4 separate regions of the Homo sapiens genome follow, and all the other regions are linked to region 1. Evidence: promoter capture Hi-C in 16 types of primary human blood cells and fetal thymus (Javierre and others, 2016). All regions are on one chromosome and are shown on one strand. The core of a region is centred on a gene start or on the middle of the fragment in contact, and the rest is flanking DNA. Distances in the headings are between cores, read along the strand shown.

Region 1 (2,594 bases), core at 48-2,547:
GCAATCTATAGATTCAATGAAATCTCTATCAAATTCCAATGATATTTTTTACAGAAATAGAAAAAAAAAACCCTAAAATTCATATGGAACCACAGATGACCCCGAATAGTCAAAAAAAATCTTGAGAAAGAAAAACAAAGCTGGAGGCATCATACTTCCTGATTCAAAATATATTACAAAGCTACAGTAATTAAAACAGCATGGTACTGTGAAAAAGACAGACATATAGTCCAAGGAACAGAATGAAAATCAATCCATGCCTGTATGGTAAACTGACCTTCAACAAGGGTGCCAGGAATACAAAATAGGGAAAGGATAGTCTTCAACGAATAGCTTTTGAAAACTGTATATTCACATGCAGAATAATGAAACTGGACTCTTATCTTACCCCATATACATAAATCAATACAAATGGATTAAAAACTTAAATATAAGTCATGAAACTATAAAACAGGGAAAAACCTTCATGACATTAGTTTTGTCAATGATTGCGTGAGTATGACACCAAAAGCACAGGAAACAAAAGTAAAACCAGGCAAATGGGACTAGAGGAAATATCTGCAAATCATATATCAGATAAGGGGTTAGTTTCCAATATATAAGGAATTTCTACAACACAATAGCAAAAAAACCTAATAATCTGATTTTAAAACTGGGCTAAGTCTGGAATAGACATTTCTCCAAAGAAGACATACAAATGGCCAACAGGTATATGAAAAGATGCTGTTACCAAACATCAGGGGAATGAAAATCAAAAATACAATGAGACATCACCTGACACCTGGTAGGAAAACTATCAACACGTGTTGGTGAGGATGTGAAGAAATCTGAACCCTTGTACACTGTTGGTGGGAATGCAAAATGGTGCAGTTACTGTGGAAAACAATATGGAGATTTCTAAAAAAAAATAAAAATAGAGCTACCATATGATTTAGCAATCTGACTTTTTAGTATTTATCTAAAAGAACTGAAATCAGGATCTTAAAGAGAAATAAGCACTCCCATATTCATTGCAACACTATTTACAATAACCAAGACATAGAAGCAACCTAAATGTTCATCAATGAATGCATGCATAAAAAGAAGATGTGGTATATATATATAATGGAATATTATTCAGACTGAAAAAAGAAGGAAATCCTGCAATATGTGACAACATGGATGAAACTTGAAGACATTATGCTATATACCAGCCACAGAAGGACAAATACTGCATGATTTCACTTACATCAGATATCTAAAATAGTCAAACTCATTGAATCAGAAAGTAGAATGGTGGATGCCAAGGGCTGGTAGTAGGGGTGGGGAATGGGGTGTTTCCAGTCAATGGGCATAAAGTCTCAATTACACAAGATGAATACGTTTTTGAGATCTGCTGTACAACATTGCTCCTATATTAATATTGTACTATATGCCTAAAAATGTGTTAAGAGTGTAGATCTCATGTTAAGTGTTCTTACCACAATAAAATAAATTTTTTTAAAAAACCAAGATCATTGGGTGTGATCATTGGCACACAGAAGCCTACTGCCTACTGAGTTTTTGAGAGAAAGAACTTAGCTGTTTGAGATCCCTGACATTACCCTAGTAGGAAGCAGGATATGAAAGATGTACAATCCCCAAGGAGAGCAAGCTCCTTCACACCCATTTCAGACATGGCCATAGAGGACAATGAATAAGAAATAGATCCCCAAATTAAGGGGCCAGTTGCCACGGAGAACAACAAACAAGAGGATTCTTCCCAGACAGAAAAGTTCTAATCAAACAATTTTCCTACTCTCCAGGTTAAGAGGCCTTCATCTGGCCTCTTTATGGACATGGGGATTTCAGAATTTATACTGACAAGTAACTTGTGCCCCCCATGATTTCTACCATTGTATGTTGGATGTGTATAGGGAGACTGTAGGCAGATTCTTAGTTCCGAGGGCTACAAGGAACCACATTCAGACCTGACAGAGAATATCCTTTTATTCAGAGATCCTGAACTTAGAGCTGTATACGGTGATCAGATGGGACTTTGACTGTTTCTCTTGGAGAAGAGTGAATGTCTTCTATATGCAGGAAGAGTGAAACATATTTGGTGACCAGAGGTAGAGTATAGCCAAGAATGCTACTGCTTGGCAATATGAGCTATAGCTTCCGGCCTCCTTTAAAATTAGGAGTGGTCAATTGGCTGCATTCTGGTCAACTGAATATAAATGCAAAAGGTAATGTGTGCCAATTTTAAGCCTGGCCTATAAAAATCTTCCCATGTGGGATTCTTACTCTACTCTGTCAACCACAGGCTTTGAGGACCAAAAGGGAGATAGTAACACTAGATAGAAAAAAAACACTAGGGGCCCGTGATGACTGTGTGGAGCAGAACTAGAGCCCCACCCTCCAACACGGACACATATTAAACCATAATAAGAGCAAGAAAAACAGCTTTTCTTAGGTTAAATCATTGATATATCGGGTTTATCTGTTTAGTTATATATCTTAACAAATACAAAATTTAAACCACAACAAATCATGATTATATTGTTTGGTGCTAATAATAAGGAAAATGTAAGATTTAAGGCCCTTAAAGAAAGGACTCCACTGACATTTAGTTT
Region 2 (2,594 bases), core at 44-2,543, 240 kb after region 1:
GACTGGTCTGATGTCAGAGGAGAACAAGAACTTCAAGGAATTTCTAGTCCTCCAAATGAGTTACACTATATTGGGACAGCAATGAGATAAGAGCTGGGATGAAAAGAATTTGACAGAGCAAGAGTAGATGCATGATACAATAGGTTACAAGGAAGAAAAGATCCGTGTTCAATGGTTAAGTCAATGGGGGCAGGAATTTGGTTTTTGTTGTTCAACACTACATACCCAGTTTCAGGCCCATAACAAGAGAAATGAATGAATGGGAGAGTGAGTGAGGCTATTTGATCCTTTCTCTTTGTTTCTTTAATCTAGTATTTCCCAATGTATGGAATGCTTCAACTAGTAATCTGGGACATCATTTTAGGTGGTAATGGTACATTAAACACTCTAAATCAGGTAGAGACAAAGTGTTTCCCCTTTTAATTTCCTAGTATCAAGGAGAAAAATTTCAGTTTGGTACTAGTAGGCCTTTAACATCTTTCTATTCTTGTTTAAACAGGAGACATGTTCTCAGGGACTGAGCTCCAGGTAACTTTATTTAGTTAAAACTATATACAGTCATTTGTCACTTAACAATAAGGATACATTCTGAGAAATGCATTGTGGGTGATTTTGTTGTTTTATGAACATCATGGAATGTACTTACACAAATTGAGATGGAATAGCCTACTATACGCCTAGGCTGGATGGTATAGCCTGTTGCTCTGAGGCTACCAACCTACACAGTAAGTTACCGTACTGAATACTATAGGCAAATTTAACACAATGGTAACCATTTGTGTATCTAAACATATCTAAACATAGAAAAGGTTCTGTAAAATATAGTATTATAATCTTCTGGAACCACTATTGTATATGCATTTCATCACTGACCAGAATGTCATTATGCAATGCATGACTGTACTTCATCTGGTTTTTCATCCTATTCATTTTTATAGTTACCATCTATTTTGGGAAAAAATGATTTTTCTAATTTGGGCTAGTAATGTAAAAATTTCCTTTTAAAGGCCAGGCGCAGTGGCTCACGCCTGTAATCCCAGCACTTTAGGAGGCCAAGGCGGGTGGATCATGCGGTCAGGAGATCGAGACCATCCTGGCTAATACGGTGAAACCCCGTCTCTACTAAAAAATACAAAAAATTAGCCGGGCATGGTGGTGGGCACCTGTAGTCCCAGCTACTCAGGAGGCTGAGGCAGGAGAATGGCGTGAACCTGGGAGGCGGAGCTTGCAGTGAGCCAAGATCGCGTCACTGCACTCCAGCCTGGGCGACAGAGTGAGACTCCATCTCAAAAAAAAAAAAAAAAAATCCTTTTAAAATAATTTATTTAAAACACAAAATTTAGTTGACTTAAAAGAAAAACATTAGGTAAATAATAAAGTCATGTGTATCTATGAGGCTAATCAGATGATGATACTCAAATGAATTAAATTTGGCAAGCTGCATTCTAATCGCCCTGGACTCCCTACGGTCTTTAGGTCTCCACTGCTACGACAACAATAAAGATCTAAAGCAGCTGTTCAGCTTTGGGTGGACCACACAGAGCCATCCCCAGGAGACACAGCAACCTGAGACAACAGTCAGTCAAACAAATGTAAACATAATCTTCAGTGTCCTGGTGAGCAACTTAAATGCAAATGCAAAAACTCCATTTCCCAAAATCTGCCATCAATTTTATATTCTTATAGAGAAAGATGCCTGTAACTGTCCCTTCATTTGACTCCCCACTATTAAGCTCATTTAGAAATAAATACTAAGCTACTAAGGTAATGAATTCATGGTAAGAAGAAAGAGAAATGATAAATTTAAAAGCCAAAAATCAATGAGAAGTTCTGTTAGGTCCTACAAATTCTTTTGGATGATCATAATTTTAATTCTGTTACAGGCAAATGGTAGCTCTCACACTAAATTCAGCAACAGCTTGCAATATGTAAATTAGGAGCCCAAAGTTCTTGAACTAACTTGCAAAGGTAGTATTAGTTGCTAATAGATGACATTTAATTTCTGACTTTCAGAACTCAAGATTAAAATAAGGGCTAAATTAGAGCTGAGGTTCCTTAAGCGGCTGCTAATAGCCTATGTCATTGAAGAGTTACTAAAAATACTGATTAAGTACATGAGAGATTTTTTTGTGTGTGTTTAACCAAGCACAACTTGATTTTCATAGTACAATATTTAAAAATAAAATAACAAAATAAAATCTGTACATTAAGTCATCAACCTGGATCCTCATTTTCTTCTTCCTTTTTTTTTTTTTTACAAAGAATTCCTTAGTCCGCTGGCCTCTACAAGCATGTACAAACACTGACGGAATCATAATCTAAAAGGAAGAGAGACACTATCAGAATTTTTTTCATTCTTAATAATTCATTTTACCTGAATCTTTTGTTTCTCCTTCTTCCTCTAATTTTGTTGGCTTTTAGCCAATTCACAATAATTAAGACTTTGATGTTGAGGCCAAGAGGGAACTGGCAAAAAGTAAAACTCATTCATCAATGTAACTCAGTAATTCTCACCTCTCATATTATGACATAGCCACCAGAAGCTACTGCAACAACTTCCTTAATAGCTCAGAACAACAAGAATACCTAATAAC
Region 3 (2,594 bases), core at 64-2,563, 220 kb after region 1:
ACTGCATACCTGTTAGAATGGCTATTATGAAAAAGACAAAAGATTGCTGGGTGTGGTGGCTCACATCTGTGATCCCAGCATTTTGGGGGTTTGAGGCGGGTGGATCACTTGAGGTCAGGGGGTCAAGACCAGCCTGGCCAACATGGTGAAATCCCGTCTCTATTAAAAATACTAAAAATTAGCCGGGTGTGGTGGTGCACGCCTGTAATCCCAGCTACTCAGGAGGCTGGGGCAAGAGAATTGCATGAACTCAGGAGGTGGAGGTTGCAGTGAGCTGAGATGGTGCCACTGCACTCCAGTCTGGGCAACAGAGCAAGAGACTCCGTCTCAAAAGAAAAAAAAAAAAAGGCCAGGCACAGTGGCTCATGCCTGTAACCCCAGCACTCTGGGAGGCCGAGGCAGGCGGATCACCTGAGGTTGGGATTTCAAGATCAGCCTGGCCAACATGGTGAAACCTCGTCTCTACTAAAAATACAAAAATTATCCAAGGGTGGTGGCACGTGCCTGCAATCGCAGCTACTTGGGAGGCTGAGGCAGGAGAATCACTTGAACCCGGGAGGCGGAAGTTGCGGTGAGCCGAGATCGTGCCACTGCACTCCAGCCTGGGCAACAGAGTGAGACACTATCTCAAAAAAAAAAAAAGAAAAAGAGAAAAAGACAAAAGATAAATATTGACAAGGATGTGAAGAAAAGGGAACACTTGTGCACTATTGGCAGGAATGCAAATTAGTGCAGCCATTATGAAAACCAGTATGGAAATTCCTCAAAAAATTAAAAATAGAACTGCCATATGATCCAGCAATCCCAATACTGGGTATATATTCAAAGGGAATAAAATCAGTGTATGACAGAGATATCTACACTCTCATGTTCTTTGCAACATTTTTCAAAATACCCAAGACATGAAATCAAGCTAAGTGTCCTTCAACAGGTAAATGGATAAAGAAAATGTGGCACATATACACAATGGAATACTATTCAGCTTTAAAAATGAAGGACACTTGTGTTATTTGCAACAACATAGATGAAGCTGGGGAATATTGTATTAAGTGAAATAAGTCAGACACAGAAAGACAAATACCACATGATCTCACTTGTATGTGGAATCTTAAAAAGTTGAACTCATGGATTAGGGAGATGTTGGTCAAAGGATATAAAATTTCAGTTAGATAAAAGTAATAAGTTTAAGGGATCTATTATACAACATGGTGGCTACAGTTAATAACAATGTATTGTGTTTTGAAAATTGCTAAGATAGATTTTAAGTGTTCTCACCACAAAAACTGATGCGTATGTGAGGTAATGCATATGTTAATTAGCTCAATTTAGCCATTCCACAACTTATACATATTTCAAAACATCATGTTGTACATGATAAACATATAAAATGATTGTCAGAGATAAACAAAACAACATCCTCTAAAATTTTATCTATGAAAAGTTTGTCAGCATAACATAATGTAAATGTAAGCATGTAGAAGAATTAAGAGTAGAGTTCATTGAAAATGTGGATGCTATAACTTTATTCCAAGCCTACTGAATTGGAATCTCCTGCACTGGGACTGAGGAAATTGTATTTTAACACACTCCATTGGTGAATCTTTTGCACACCAAACTTTAGGACTGCTGAGACAGAATGCTGCACTCTTCTTTGAACTTGTACACCTTTGCTAGTCAAAGTGTGGTTCTAGGACAAGCAACATCCACATATCATAGGAGCTTGTTAGAAATGCAGTCTCAGATAACACTCAACACTGACTGAATCAGAATATGTATTTTAACAAGAGCCTTCATTGATTCATAGGCACATTAAAGTTTGAAAAGCAGTATGATAATACAATATACTACCTTTTTGTTATGATTTAAATTTAAAAATTATAGGGATGAGTGTATTTTTTAAGTACAAAAGGGATAAAATGTAAAGGAAAAGTGGTTTTTTTTTTTTTTTTTTTTTTTTTTTTTTTTTTTTTTTTTTTTTTTTTTTTTTTTTTGAGACAGAGTCTCGCTTTGTTGCCCAGGCTGGAGCACATTGGTGCTATCTTGGCTCACTGCAGCCTCTGCCTCCCAGGTTCAGGCAATTCTCCTGCCTTAGCGTCCTGAGTAGCTGGGATTATAGGTGCCCGCCATCATGCCTGGCTAGTTTTTGTATTTTTAGGAGAGACAGGGTTTCACCATGTTGGCCAGGCTGGTCTCAAACTCCTGACCTCAAGGGATCCATCCGCCTCGGCCTCCCAAAGTGCTGGGATTACAGGCGTGAGCCACTGCACCTGGCCAAAAAAGTTTTTTCTCCACCACCTATCCCAGTTTCACTCTTCAGAAACCATAAATAGGAAGTTTCTTCTTATTTATTTTTCTTTAATTTCCTTGAAAAAGGTATTGCTACTCTGTGTTCTAACATCTGGTATGGGGATGAGAAATTTGATTCACATTTCAAACATTTCTGTGATAATTAATTTCAGATGTCTACTTGACTGGATTTAACAATAGCAGGAGAACTGGTGAAGCATTGTTTCTAGGTTTGTCTGTGAAGGTGGTTCTAGAGGAGACTGGTAAGTGGGTCAGTGGCGTGAGTGGGGAAGACCACTCTTGATGTG
Region 4 (2,594 bases), core at 50-2,549, 180 kb after region 1:
AAAGCTCACATCACCTTAATAAAGTGCCCGGTATTCCTGTCATTATAATTTACTCTGTGGCCCTAATACTTTTTTGAAGTAGTTATGTGAAAATTATAAATAGGTAAAATCAAATATATATGTAAATTAGTGAAAATTAACTCATTTGGGTTAAAATAGTCTTCAGAAAGACTATGAAAATCCAAATATATTATAAAGTAGTAGTTAGGTCTTAAAATATATCAACCAATTGTCCAGCAAAAGGTTTCTTTGGGAATGGGACATGGAATAGCCAATCTTTGATAGAAGAGGGTACTGCTATAGAAGGTCCTGAAAAGCTAAGAGACAGGATAAAGGGCCTGGAACCCAGGGCACCCTAAAGATAAACCAAATATTTTATGAATTCACTTGCACTGACCCTAGATACAGATAAGATATTGAAAGCTAGTTTTCTAATTTATATTATTCTATCAAATGAATTCAGCTGCCCTGTAGACCCATATAGAAAACTAGGAAACAGAAAACTTTAGCAACTTGTCCATGGTCAGTGGTATAAATAAGGCTAAAGACGAAGGCAAGAGATTTATATTTAATCTTTTTCTCAAATCAAGGGATAAACAACTAAATATACCATTAAAAATACTGGGAAAAAATTTTAAGATTTCTCATTATGGAAAAGTAATGTACAAACAAAGTCACCATGCAATCATGGCCTAAAAGAGCTTCTCAATTTTGAAATTAATATATGATTACATGGAGCAGGGATCAGCAAACTGTGGCTCACGGGCCAAGTCAGCCAGATGCCTGTTTTTATAAATAATGTTTTATTGAAACACAGTCACTCCCTTTCCTTCATTTATTGTTTATGGCTGTTTTCCCATTACGCCGGCAATGTTGAGTTGTCATGACAGAAACAGCATGGCCCGCAAAGCCTAAAATATTTACTGGTTCTTTACAGAAAATATCTGCCAACCCCTGTTGTAGTTCATTAAAAATCAGTGTTTAGTGCAAGTCTACATCTACTATACCTATAATACCTAGAACAAATCATACATGATCTCACTAAAGAAAGCCCTTGGTTAATTAAGTAAATAAATAGAATTGATATTAAGTAGACACAACGAAAATGTTACATATTGAGCCTGGCAGTCAATTCCACAAACACAGACCTGCACAATATGGACTGTGACAATATCTTGCTTTTTTTGTAAACATTCTTAAAATGGTAAACACATTCCACTGGCATTTTTCATCATCACATATCATTCATTTATTGTAAATCTCAAGATTTTAGTCACAAAACATTTTTTGATGGATTTCACTTTCTATAGGCCTTTGTGCATTGCAGCTTTGCAAAAATTATACAATCCTCTGGGTACAAATTAACTTGAGAGCCTGGCTGAGATGGAAAATATGATAAAAATGGAAATACAAAAGGCTGTGATGGCTTTTTAAATTACAGGATATGTATAGCAATAAATAGTAAATCTGGTACTTTTTAAGAAGGATGCCATTGTTAAGAAGCCAGATTTTAAAAATAACAACAAGGAATATCAAGCCTATTCCCAACATTTTCCAAAAGGAATTTAACTCACTTAAATAGCATCTGTAATTTTAGATAAATAGTTAAACTCAAAAGCAAATTTAGGGACATGTGCAATGGCTCATGCCTGTAATCCCAGCACTTTGGGAGGCCAAGGCAGGAGGATCACTTGACCTCACAAGTTCATGACCAGCCTGGGCAGCATGGTGAAACTCTGTCTCTACAAAAAATACCAAAAAAAAAAAAAAAAATTAGCCAGGCATGGTGGTGCATGCCTATGGTCCCAGCTACTCAGGAGGCTTGAGCCGGGAGGCAGAGGTTGCAGTGAGCTGAGATCACACCACTGCACTCCAGCCTGGGTGATAGATCCAGACCTTGTCTCAAAATAATAAAAAGCAAATTTATTTAATATAATTTCTTAATTTTTTTATGGTGCAGAATTTTTTAGTTTCTGTTGAGTATGTATCCATAACTTTGAGAAAATTATTTTTTGAAAAACTATTTGATGTTGACTTTAGGCAATCATACCAGACTACAACCATGTAGAATTAAAATGACATCACGTCTAAAAAATAATTAAAGTCAAAGTACCTGATTTTTGTAAAGGGTTGTCAACTCTATCTATAAGACTGTGTCTACTAACTTAGTATAAAAATTCCAAACCACAATATCATGTCTCCAGATATGCCTTTGAAGACATCAATGATTGACTTCAAATCCTAATTACCCAAAACTCAGAAAACATATATGGAATTTGCAATATTTGAGAGATTCAAGAGGCTATGCTAATAGTTGCTTTCTCTCAATTCCCTAAGCTCTTTTCATTCATTTATTCTTACATCCAAACATTACACACTTTCTGATAACTACTGTGTGCCAAGTATATCAGTTATACTATCACTATGTATACAGCTCACCAGCAAAAGAATGTCATATTCTATTTTCAAAAATCATTTGTGAAGTGCCCATAATGCATGTACTATATACTATGTTAAGTTCTAAGGATAAAGAGATTACTAAGACACAACAATGGTTCTAAAATGTGAGTATGTACCAGATATATCTTAGGATT

What was found. Contacts are between HindIII fragments. The CHiCAGO score rates a contact against its expected background, and 5 or more counts as called.
Region 2: a contact is called between a fragment that was not itself captured here and the fragment with the promoter of MCTP1-AS1 in region 1, in 4 of 17 cell types (megakaryocytes, monocytes, M2 macrophages and 1 more). The highest score is 6.4, in megakaryocytes.
Region 3: a contact is called between a fragment that was not itself captured here and the fragment with the promoter of MCTP1-AS1 in region 1, in 5 of 17 cell types (megakaryocytes, M2 macrophages, monocytes and 2 more). The highest score is 6.1, in megakaryocytes.
Region 4: a fragment that was not itself captured here is called in contact with the fragment with the promoter of MCTP1-AS1 in region 1 in 2 of 17 cell types (megakaryocytes and monocytes); the score reaches 5.8 in megakaryocytes.

Annotation. Positions count from the first base shown.
Region 1 is chr5:94,977,401-94,979,994 of GRCh38, forward strand. It overlaps MCTP1-AS1 (MCTP1 antisense RNA 1), which reads left to right and starts at 1,298. Exons shown (of 2, transcript NR_189169.1): 1 at 1,298-2,207. The region is part of intron 2 of MCTP1 (multiple C2 and transmembrane domain containing 1); the gene reads right to left. The HindIII fragment of the contact is 7,189 bases long and covers 1-2,594 here.
Region 2 is chr5:95,218,094-95,220,687 of GRCh38, forward strand. The region is part of intron 1 of MCTP1 (multiple C2 and transmembrane domain containing 1); the gene reads right to left. The region is part of intron 4 of LOC105379085 (a long non-coding RNA gene); the gene reads left to right. Among named protein-coding and RNA genes, the nearest start is that of MCTP1, 66 kb to the right of the region's middle. The HindIII fragment of the contact is 6,099 bases long and covers 1-2,594 here.
Region 3 is chr5:95,199,532-95,202,125 of GRCh38, forward strand. The region is part of intron 1 of MCTP1 (multiple C2 and transmembrane domain containing 1); the gene reads right to left. All of the region lies in intron 4 of LOC105379085 (a long non-coding RNA gene), which reads left to right. Among named protein-coding and RNA genes, the nearest start is that of MCTP1, 84 kb to the right of the region's middle. The HindIII fragment of the contact is 3,469 bases long and covers 1-2,594 here.
Region 4 is chr5:95,157,017-95,159,610 of GRCh38, forward strand. The region is part of intron 1 of MCTP1 (multiple C2 and transmembrane domain containing 1); the gene reads right to left. The region is part of intron 2 of LOC105379085 (a long non-coding RNA gene); the gene reads left to right. Among named protein-coding and RNA genes, the nearest start is that of MCTP1, 130 kb to the right of the region's middle. The HindIII fragment of the contact is 2,620 bases long and covers 1-2,594 here.